Linked DNA regions of Homo sapiens: region 1 is linked to region 2. The links are contacts of gene promoters, found by promoter capture Hi-C in blood cells and fetal thymus (Javierre and others, 2016). All regions are on one chromosome and are shown on one strand. The core of a region is centred on a gene start or on the middle of the fragment in contact, and the rest is flanking DNA. Distances in the headings are between cores, read along the strand shown.

Region 1 (5,387 bases), core at 668-3,167, 1.0 Mb before region 2:
GAAGCAGAGGAGGAATATCTTGATGCTAGCACAGTATTGAGAAACCATGAGGAATACTTTGTACTCAGATATAAGACTATTTCTACAGGTGCCACAATCCACAGACTCTCCCAAGCCTTGCAGTCTTCGTGAAAAGACTGCAAGGCTAATAAAGAACACAAGTTAAGGAAATGGGATCTGGAGCTTCCAGTGAGGGCAGAATCAGAGGTGATCTCCTACCTAGTATTCATACCTCTTTCTCCAAGGCCTAGACACACCTATCATTTCAAAGTCTACTACTCTTCCTCTGTGCTGTATCTTAACAGTACACCTTAGATTTTTGGGGGCAAAGTTAAAATTTTAAATATTTTCTCCCATAATTATCTAAAGCATATCAATATTTGTCTATTCTAACCATCAGCACTAAGCATGCCAACCAAACCAGACCCCTTACCATTTCCCAAATATATGCTATAATTTTCTCCTTTTTGCTATGCTTTGTAAGAAATATTTTCTTTTTTCCTTCAATTTTGTATATTTCATCCCAGCTCTATCCAAATCCCATTGTCCTCTGAAAGCTATCCTAACTGTGGTAGCCTAAATGGTCTTTTTCCTCTGAACTTTGATAGCTTTTGGTTATGTTTCTGTATGAGTTACCAAATGTTATTTTATATTTTAGTTACTTTGGGTTCATGTTTTTAAAAATAACTTTATTGATATATACTTCATATATTTTCCTATCATACAATTTACTTACTTAAAGTGTACAGTTCAATGATTTTTTAGTAGTATATTCATAGTTGTACAACCATCACCACAATGAATTTTAGAACAATTTCATCCTGCCAAAAAGAAACCCTGTACTCATTAGCAACCACTGCCCATTCTCCCTTCCCTCTAGCTCTCGGCAACCACTAATCTACTTTCTGTCTCTAAAGATTTGCCTATTTTGGAGGATTTCATATAAATAGAATCATACAGTAGGTGTTCTTTTATGACTGGTTTCTTTCACTTATGTGTCAGAATAATGTTTCCAAGATTCATCCATGTTGTAACATGTATCAGCACTTCATTTCTTTTTGTTGCTGAATAATGTTCTATTGTATGTAAATACCACATTTTATTTATCCTTCATCAGTTGGTAGAGATTTGGTTTGATTCTATTTTTTGACTATGATGAAAAATGCTGTTATGAACACTCATGTGTAAGTTTTTGTGACGACGTATGTTTTCATTTCTGTTGGGTATATACCTGGGAGTAGAACTGCTGGATCATATGGTAACTATTTTTTTTAACCTTTTGAAGAACAGCCAGACTATTTTCCAAAGTGGCTGCACCACTTTTTCATCCCCAGTATTGGTCTATAAGGGTTCCAATTTCTCTACATCTGCACCATCACTTACTAGCTGTCTTTTATATTTTAGCCATCTTAGTGGGTATGAGTAGTAGCTCACTGTGATTTTAATTTGTATTTCCCTGATGGCTAATGATGTTGATCACCTTTTCATGTGTTTATCAGTGATTTTTATATCTTTTTTGGAGAAATGTCTACTCAGATCTTTTGCCCTTTTTAACTTGGATTTCTTTATAGGTTCATGTTTAATCTCTGTTACCAGACAGTAAATCTCTTGAAGGCAGTGATTGTATTTGAACAAAATCATGAACATTTTACTATGTTGTTATCCAGCACACCATAAATATGTGACTTGGCAAGTTAGTTAATTTTCCCACATCTCGGTTTTCTTGTCTGAAGAATGATGATAATAATATGTACCTTATAGAAGGGATGTGAGGATTAAATAAAAATAATCCCTAGACAGAGCCCCTAGGACAGTGCCTGGCACTTATAAAATAACCAATAAACATTACCTATTATTCTTACTAGTTTTTATACCTTGCAATATATAGTACAGTTTCTTACACACAGTAGGTACTCAATGTCTATCTGTGAATGAATTAGGGATTAAAATTATTTTAGCTCATTTATAGTTGTAGTTATGACTAGCTATCTATGAAAAGGTCAAACAAGCCAATATGGAACCAACATAAGCTGAGCAAGTGGATAAAATTTAAAAGATAGTCACTTCAACTCCCAAAACAATCAATAAGGAAAACACCGCACCGGGTCTAAGATAAACCCCTAAATGGAGTGAATTCAACGGGAGTAGCCATGAAGATGCTTTTATAGCTCTAACAAATGCTTAGTCAAAGACTCCAAAGATATCCAAAGATGTCATTATTTGAATCTTCAAAATAAAAGGGACTAAACTTCGATAAAGAAGCCCGGAGACATATTTCAGGAGACATTTTAATCTATCAATTCTACAGCAATAGCAAACTGTGGCAGAGGAAGAACTGCTGAAAATCAAACTGCTAGACCTTATATCACAAAACTGGCTGAAGACTTACTCTTGGTCCCTATAAATATAGAAGCCAACTCCTCCTCAGGATCGATTGAAAGACTATAGCTCCTTCTACTTTCAATGCTGCCCTAAACATAGAGTAACCGGTTTTTGAGATTTGGACAATTGGCAGGGAGATGGCAGAACTTTAAACCATCCTAGGCCAATATGGATAAACCAGACTGAGAGGGATTTAGCAGTGGAAATAAATCAAAACCTTGCATGCTAGCCTAAGCAACTGGCCTTCATCTGATAAGCAATGAGGAAACATGGGGTAAAGGCAGGAGGAAAAGAGATGGGTTGAAATCATGAAAGCAGTGCTTTAGAAAGGACAGTCTGAATCAGAGGTGGCTAAAATAAAGGTAGGAGTGGGTTTAGCAGGCATGAGGTCCTGATATACCTTGAAGACAAAAAAGACAATAAGCATAAATCTTGGGCAAGAGAGGTCAGACCAACCTCCCAAATCCTAATCCCTAAGACACAGAATGGCCCAGAGCAGAGGACCATGGTTTATGTAGGAAATTGTGCAATCATGAGTAAAGACTGTTCTCAACTTTGTTTTTCTACCCTGATCATGATATAACAAGTGGCAGAGAGCAATAGTTATAACATTAACTACTATTACAGCTAATAATAATAATTGCCACTACTTACAGAGTATTGACTTTGTGCTAGGTACTATGCTAAGCACTTTAGATTTTCACCTTACAATGACCCTATGGAACAGATAATATATTTTATAATACAGATGATGAAATCAAGCCTTACAGAAATTAAGTAACAAAATCAAGATTAAGTAAGAGAAATCTGATTTCCAGAGGTGGGTTTTGAAACCTGTATCTGATAAAAACCAAAGCCCACTCTTTTAACTGCATCAGTATGCTGCCTCCTAACTAGAATGGTTTATGAAAGGATTCTCTACTTAGATTATTTCTTGTTTTTTCTGCAGTCAGTAGGTCAATAGGGCCTATTTAAGTAAGGTATGTCAAAAACTATTCATGCATTTATTGCGTTCACTCACTATTTGCTGCCTACGATGTCTTGGGGGATACCATGGTAAACAGATGCAGTTCCTGCCTTCAGGAAGCCTAGAAAGGGTAGCTGAAGGAGGAGGAGAATTCATTTGGTCTCCTAAATGTCCAATACTATTCCAGTCAAGAGACTTATCTTGAAATGTATTCAATTGGCCAAGCCTGACATAATGGTGAAGTTCTGATAAGTGGACAAACAGGCCATGTACTTTCCCAGTTCCCTGTAACCCATGTTCCTTTCCCTATGTAACATATTCTGTTGTCTCCTCTGTCCTTTACCTTCTCCAGTGCCTCCACTCCCCTCTCAGGCATCTCTTTCAGCTAGCCACAGATGAACCCCATCACTGTGGGGGTTCACAAGCCACCACAGCTCTTTTACCTCCCAGAAAGTTTTCAGTATTCTCCAGGCTGACTGGAGGGTTTCAAGGGCCACTGTAAGATTGGGGGATGCTGCTTCATTTAAACCCATCTGGCTGCAGTGAAAAGAGATACATCCACGTTAGCTAAGATAGAGAAGGGTTATTATACTGGGCAGTAAGAAGATGCTCACATTTAATCCAGCTGTTAACAAGTTGGCCTCAGTGAAGCTGCACCTGGTGCGTTACTCTGGATATGAGGCAGTCCTAGATTTCAGCAGCAATATTTTATGAATCTTCACACTTATGTTTCACAATTGACAAAAAATTAGCGACATTCCCCATGTCTGCTTCTTTCTGATTCAACTGTAATTTCTTTCTGATCTGCCACCAACTGGAATTTCCCTCTGGGTTCTTTGGATTAAATTCCTGGGCGAGTGAGAAAAAAAAATAATCTCTGCTTCTGTTTGGGCAGTGCCTTATAAGTGACAGGCCACCAGGCAGTCTGTTGATGGGCTTACCTTGGTCAGATGTCCACTATGGCTCCGATCAACATAGGTTCTAAAGTGACGTCATATGATACAAGGACAGCACCCCAAATTATGTTTGGTTCAGGTGCCTCTGCTCCAGTTTTGTGTATGAAGCCCACAAAACCCCCAATCCTTAAGACAAGTGCCGTATAATTCCAACAATCACAATATTTCAAAGTACCATCAATGGATAGATGCCACTTGTAATACTGACACTATTTGGAAGATCTTATTGCTTTGAATCATTTAAAACAAAAAACAAAAAAAACTAAGCTCAAGAGAGCAGTGTAGTGTAGTGGAAAGAACATAGACTTTGGAGCCACACAGCCCTAAGGCTGAATTTCTAATTAGCCTTTCACTCTCTGTGATAGCAGACTTTACTCATCATTTTTGAGCTTGAGTTCCCTCATTTCTAAAATGCGGATAAACATTCTTATTTATAAATGTGGCGATAAGTAGAATTACATTTTTTAAGGTTTGTGATAAAAGGTGTTTGATAAATAAAAATTCCTTTTCAACTAAAACTTAATATTTACAAATATATTCAGTGTTTCAAAAGATATAGAGTACCTGTACCTACTGTGGAGCAGGCACTGTTAGGGGATGGGTATATAATAATAAGACAGTTCTTTTCAAGGACTTTACAATTTACTCTAATTATTCAAAAAATAAGTCCACTAACTAAGAGATATATCCAACTCAGTCAATCCAAATTATTTGCAAGAAATCATACTAGGCAATGGGGGATGGTGGTGGTGTGAGGGAGAATCCAAAAATGAATAAAGATAGTCATTCTATGTAAGTAGGAACCTACTCTAATTGGACATGAGATGTGCATTTTACACTGAAATTTACAGTTTCCTTGCCAATAGCTTCAATGAGGCAGAAACACAGTTTTCAACTTTTAGAAAGCAGTTTCTCAGTTATCTTAGCTGCTCAATGGTCTGGTTACATTTATCCTAAATTCAACAACCAAATAGTTGGAGACTTTATTAAATTAAAAGCTCCTAGTACAGCGTTGCAAGCAGTAGGTTTTCAAAATTTGTCAGGTTACTCATTTCTTTACCTACACCACTTTTTTTCTACTT
Region 2 (5,260 bases), core at 939-3,438:
ATTTTCACCTTTTAAGTAAAGTATAGCACCTTCATTTAGCCATTCCGCTGATCTGCAAACTGAGAGACCAAGAGACCTTGGTTTATTCAAAATTGGTTCTCTGTTTTACTAAAAGGAGTCGTCCATTAAAAGTTATGCTCAATACTAAATACCAGTTAGAATAGATACAACTGTGCTGCCTTCACCTACACTAAGGGCTAGGGGTTGAGAGTAGAGAAAGACTCCTCTCCCCACTCTTTGTTTTTCCACGTCTATCCTTAAACATTCTTTGAGGATCTGATTCTCGAAAGGGTTTTTGTTGTTTATGTTTGTTTGTTTGTTTCTTTTAATAGCTACAAATCTCCTTGGGAGGGACAAGGAACCTTGATGTGAACCACATGTGGAATACAGCAATGGTACCCAAGCTTTTTGGATTTCACAGATCAAGTTTAAAAGATTTTGGGGGATCTACCTAGGACTGCTAATTTTTTATTTTTCTGAGAGAGGACATCAACCAACAATAACTATCGTATTTCATAACAGAATGGACAATTCAAAATAACTAAAACTATGAAGCATATAGTCTTAGAATAAAGAATTGTCCTGTTCAAGAAAGGACAAGTGTAACCTTAAAATTGTTATAATACATCCGGATAAATTTATTACATAGATGGCCCTACATTTCCTATGGGTCTGCGGTTGTGAGCCACTGTTCTAGACGGCTAGGAGGGTTTGAAGTGAGTTGAGAACCTTTACTGTCCTGAAGATGGGGTAGGGGCTAGACAAGGGTATATTCTAAAAAGAGGAAAGCGCTACTGTAATAATCTTGCCTAGGATTACATACAGATGGGCATAACAGAGTCCCAGGACTTCACCCCTTCGGTGTAGAGCAGGGATGGCAGGGATGGCAAGAGCCCCACTTAGGATACCTGGAAAAAGAAATCTCCGCAGCAAAGGGTCCTTGTGCTGACTTTTCTTTTTCATTTACGAGTGTACCCTCTGTCTCCTTGGGGGCCCACCTTCTTATTCCCAGCAGGAAAGGGGAAGGGGGAGGACAGGAAATGTGGAAACCGCGTTAACAGCCTGATTGTGAACCAGCACTGCGACTGAGATGCGAGGAGGGAAGGACAAAAGTCCCTCCCTCGCTTTTCAAAAAGTAAGCCACAAAAGTTATAGAAACATTTTCTATTAAACATCATCTCCATTTTGCAGAGAACCTAAGGCTCCGAGGACTTGCCCAGGGCCATACAGCCGGTGAGCCCCAGGGCTCAGCCACAGCCCAGGTAACGAGGACAGGGCTTGCTCCAGCCACCATTGGCTGCCTCTTCGGCCTCCCTCTCTCAGGTGAGACAGTATGTCAGGTGAGGCAACTGAAACAATGTCCCTCAGTTCGGATGCATCCTCCCTCTTCGTTTCCTGTCATGAGACAGGTTTCTCCTCTTCCTGGATGTGGTTAAAAAAAAAAGAAGAAGAAAAGAAACAAAAGAAAAAAGGAAAGAAACGCAAAGCAAAGCCAAGCCCAACGTCTTGGCTCTCAGGGTTGCACCTCCTTTCTCTACCCGCGGGGTCTGGGCCGGCGGGGTGTGGCCGCAGCCCTGGGGCGCGAGAAGCCCATCCGGGCCCGAGGTGCTGGGCGGCCTGGAGCGCTGGCTGCCCCCAGGGCCGGCGGCTGTCCCTGGGGTTTCCCCGCTTCTGGGCTTTCCCCGCTTCTGGGCTCGGTGGCCGCGCGGGCGGGCGCCAAGTGACTCAGCCGTCCCCGAGGGCGTTCCGGGAAGCGGCCGGGGGCGCGGGCTTTCCTGTCGCCGCAGCGTGTGAGTCCCCAGCGCCGAAAGGGGATCAGAAACCGCTGGGCGGAGCAGCGGGAGGAAGCTGCGGCGCGCAGAGCAGAGTCAGCGCCACCGTCTTTCGAGCTGGAGCGGAGGGAACGTGGCCTTGACGTTGCTGAAGCTGAAGCGCCGGGCGGGCGCCCGGACCCCGGGGCGGGGCAGAAACGAGTCCGTTCCCTACTGCGGGGCGGGGGCAGGGCTGGAACGGGAGTTCAGGAGGGACAAGGACGTGGAAGGAGCCCAGCAGAGGGCACCCGGGACCCCCGCGGCCGGGCCGAGTTTGAAGGGAGCCCCTCTCCCCCTCCCCCTGGCGGAGCCCCCTGTAGGGTCTGACCTGGTGCCCCGCAACAGGAGCGGGAGGAGGAGCAGGCCCAGAGCGGCCGGGCCCCAGCCTAGAGGGGCGCTCGAGGGGAAGCGAGTGAAGTGAGGGCTCCGCCAGAGCAGCACCCCCTTCCCCGCCGTCCCTCCCGGACTGGCCGGTTCTCGTCAGAGATTCCTTTGTCTTCGACGCTGGTCCCTCCACACCAAGGTGGGAGGCTGAGGTGGGAGGTGGCAGAGCGGTGGGAGTGGGAGCAAGGCCGGAGCGTGGGTGGAGGCGCTGGCCGCGGGCTTGCAAGGATGGCACAAGGGAGACATCCAGGACAAACCATGGGGAACACAGCTGCCACTGAGAGAAGCTGCCCGGAGGAGGAAGGGGCTGCAAAGTTCAACCACCAGGCAAGGCAAGTCCACGAACAAAATCCCGGCTCTAAAAACAGAGCAGCAATTGTCACTGTGGGTTAGACGCTTTGAGTTACCTCTATTTTCATTTATGTCTAAGATAAATTCAAGAGACAAGGAGAAAGTCAGGAGGTTAAAATTCCAGCCTCTGGTCCCAGCTCCCTAAAGCCAGCTCCCTTCTTGTCTTTGCCAAAGTTTGCTTCTATGAATCAGTAATTAACCCCCACTTTTTTTCTTATGTCAGAGTTCCTTCAGTCACAACCAAGAGAGTTCTGACTAATAACACACCTTTTAATCCAGCAATTTTACTTCTGGGAGTTTATTCCAAAGAAATATTACATAACAAAAGAGCCATATGCCTCACAATATTCACTGTGGGCTTGTTCATAAAATTAAAACAATCATAACTATAAATGTCCAGTAATGGAGGCAGGGAATAAACTGGCATATTTATATGATAAACTACTATGGGCCGGGCGTGGTGGCTCACGCCTGTAATCCCAGCACTTTGGGAGGCTGAGGCGGGCAGATCACCCGAGGTCAGAAGTTCAAGACCAGCCTGGCCAACATGGCGAAACCCCGTCTCCACTAAAAATACAAAAACAAGTTAGCTGGGCGTGGTGGTGTGGGCCTATAGTTCCAGCTACTTGGGAGGCTGAAGCAGGAAAATCACTTGAGCCCGAGAGGTAGAGGCTTCAATGAGCTGAGATCGTGACACTGCACTCTGGCCTGGGCAACAGAGCGAGTCTCCGTCTCAAAACAAAACAAAACCTACGGAGCCTTAAAATGTTATATGTAGGGTTTTATAACTTGAATAAAGACTTCGGTTATAAGAAAGCAAGACACAAAATCATATATATATATAATATATATATACACACACACAGTGTAATCACAATATGAAAATGTACATAGAAAAAAAACACTTGAAGGAAATCCACCAAAATGTTACATCTTTGGGTGATAGAATTACATACAAGTATTTTTTTCTTTCTAAAACATTTATGTATTTCCCAATTTATCTACAATGAGGATAAGCATGTATTATTAAAAAGTATGAAAACATTGATTTTAAAATTTTACATATATAGTATATAATTATATATACATAATACATATATATATACTATATATATATATATAGTATATATATATATGTGAAATTGCTGCTGAATAGGAAATCACCGGGCCTGGGTGAAAGATGATAAAATTTACTTGAGCAATTTTTCCACTAATTGAATGATTTTTCTGCAATTTAAAAAGGGTATATGGAAGTTAAAGAGGATGGGTCAATGTTTATACATCTGTATTAGTTCGTTTTCACACTGCTGATAAAGACATACTGGAGACTGGGCAATTTACAAAAGAAAGAGGTTTAATGAACTTGCAGTTCCACATGGCTGGGGAGGCCACAAGTCATGGTGGAAGATTAAAGGCACTCAAGAGAAGAGAGAGCTTTTGCAAGGAGACTCCCGTTTTTCAAAACCATCAGATCTCGTGAGACTTACTCACTATCACAAGAACAGCCCGAGAAAGGCCTGGCCCCATGATTCAATTACCTCCCACCAGGTCCCTCCCACAACACGTGGGAATTCAAGATGAGATTTGGGTGGGGATACAGCCAAACCATATCAATGTCCAAGATATTAGTGAAAGGGAAGGGCATGCCACAGTAGGCCAGAGGAGAGAAAACATCTGAGTTTTAGAATACACAAAAAGAAAATGATGAGATCGCAGCTGATTCTTGATTGGTGAGGACTTGCTGGTTTGTGGGCAGAAGTAATGGAACTTTTAATGGCAAAGGGAAGAATACACTCAAACATTATTTAAGATAGGAGGTAAGGGAGTAATGGGTAAGGTTACTGCATCATGAAAAGTTTTGTTTACAATGGGTTTACTGTATTTATCAGGATAATATTTTTTAATCCTGAAGAATAGGTGTGCAAAATGAATTTAACATCTTCACATTTGGCCCAAGGTTGTTGATACCAGTATTATTATCTTACCTTAGCAATAGGATGAGTATGCTTATTTTGGGTTGGAAAATGCCTAATGATCATGTAGCCCCTTATTTGGGGCCTATTCCTCTTCTATAGGGAGGGAAGGAAGAATATCAAGAAAGCCTCATGTCTAAGTGCCCTGTATCCCTGGAGATCTTTATGTAGCAGCAGAGAATAGACACTGATAAAACCAAGTTTCGCTAGTTTGAGAACTGTTCAGTCTTGTGGGAGGATCTGGTAGAAGGGAGAATGCAGCAATATCCTTCAAGTAATACTACATACCATACCTTGAACAAGGAATGTAGCATAAACTGGTGAGGACCTGTGTTATGATAAAAGGCAAAGCTTTTGCTCTGGGATTGAAATCTAGGACTCTCTGTGGGGTAGATGTAGAATTTACCAAGCCATACACAGAGAGGTGTGGGTCTGGGCTTAAGGAAATCTTGGGTCATTCCAGTTCCCCTCCCTTGATTCTTCCCCTGCCAGGGGAGATCCCTTGCTGATCTCACCTTGTGTGGGCTTTTTATCATTGTCCCTCCCTCACCTATTGAAAGCTGTACACGTTTTACTGGGAATGAAATGGGAGGTGTCACTAGGTTGAGGGTCAGACACTGGACATTCGTGGATTCACAGCCTTCCTCTAACAACTTGACCATCTCACCAACCTCACCACCCTGTTTTCCAATCACTGGAATAGATTATAGGGAAAGAGGGGGAACCGCTCATGGTTCTTTT

What was found. The method cuts DNA at HindIII sites, captures the fragments that hold promoters and counts their contacts. A CHiCAGO score of 5 or more calls a contact.
Region 1: a fragment that was not itself captured here is called in contact with the fragment with the promoter of ARHGAP31-AS1 in region 2 in 1 of 17 cell types (non-activated CD4 T cells); the score reaches 6.1 in non-activated CD4 T cells.

What each region holds. Positions count from the first base shown.
Region 1 is chr3:120,351,184-120,356,570 of GRCh38, reverse strand. It overlaps the pseudogene BTNL12P. Among named protein-coding and RNA genes, the nearest start is that of LRRC58, 4.5 kb to the right of the region's middle. The HindIII fragment of the contact is 8,642 bases long and covers 1-5,387 here.
Region 2 is chr3:119,319,688-119,324,947 of GRCh38, reverse strand. It overlaps ARHGAP31-AS1 (ARHGAP31 antisense RNA 1), which reads left to right and starts at 2,188. Exons shown (of 2, transcript NR_046748.1): 1 at 2,188-2,334. All of the region lies in intron 1 of ARHGAP31 (Rho GTPase activating protein 31), which reads right to left. RefSeq lists enhancers at 803-1,659, 1,660-2,517 and silencers at 1,481-1,830, 1,881-2,240. The HindIII fragment of the contact is 4,466 bases long and covers 407-4,872 here.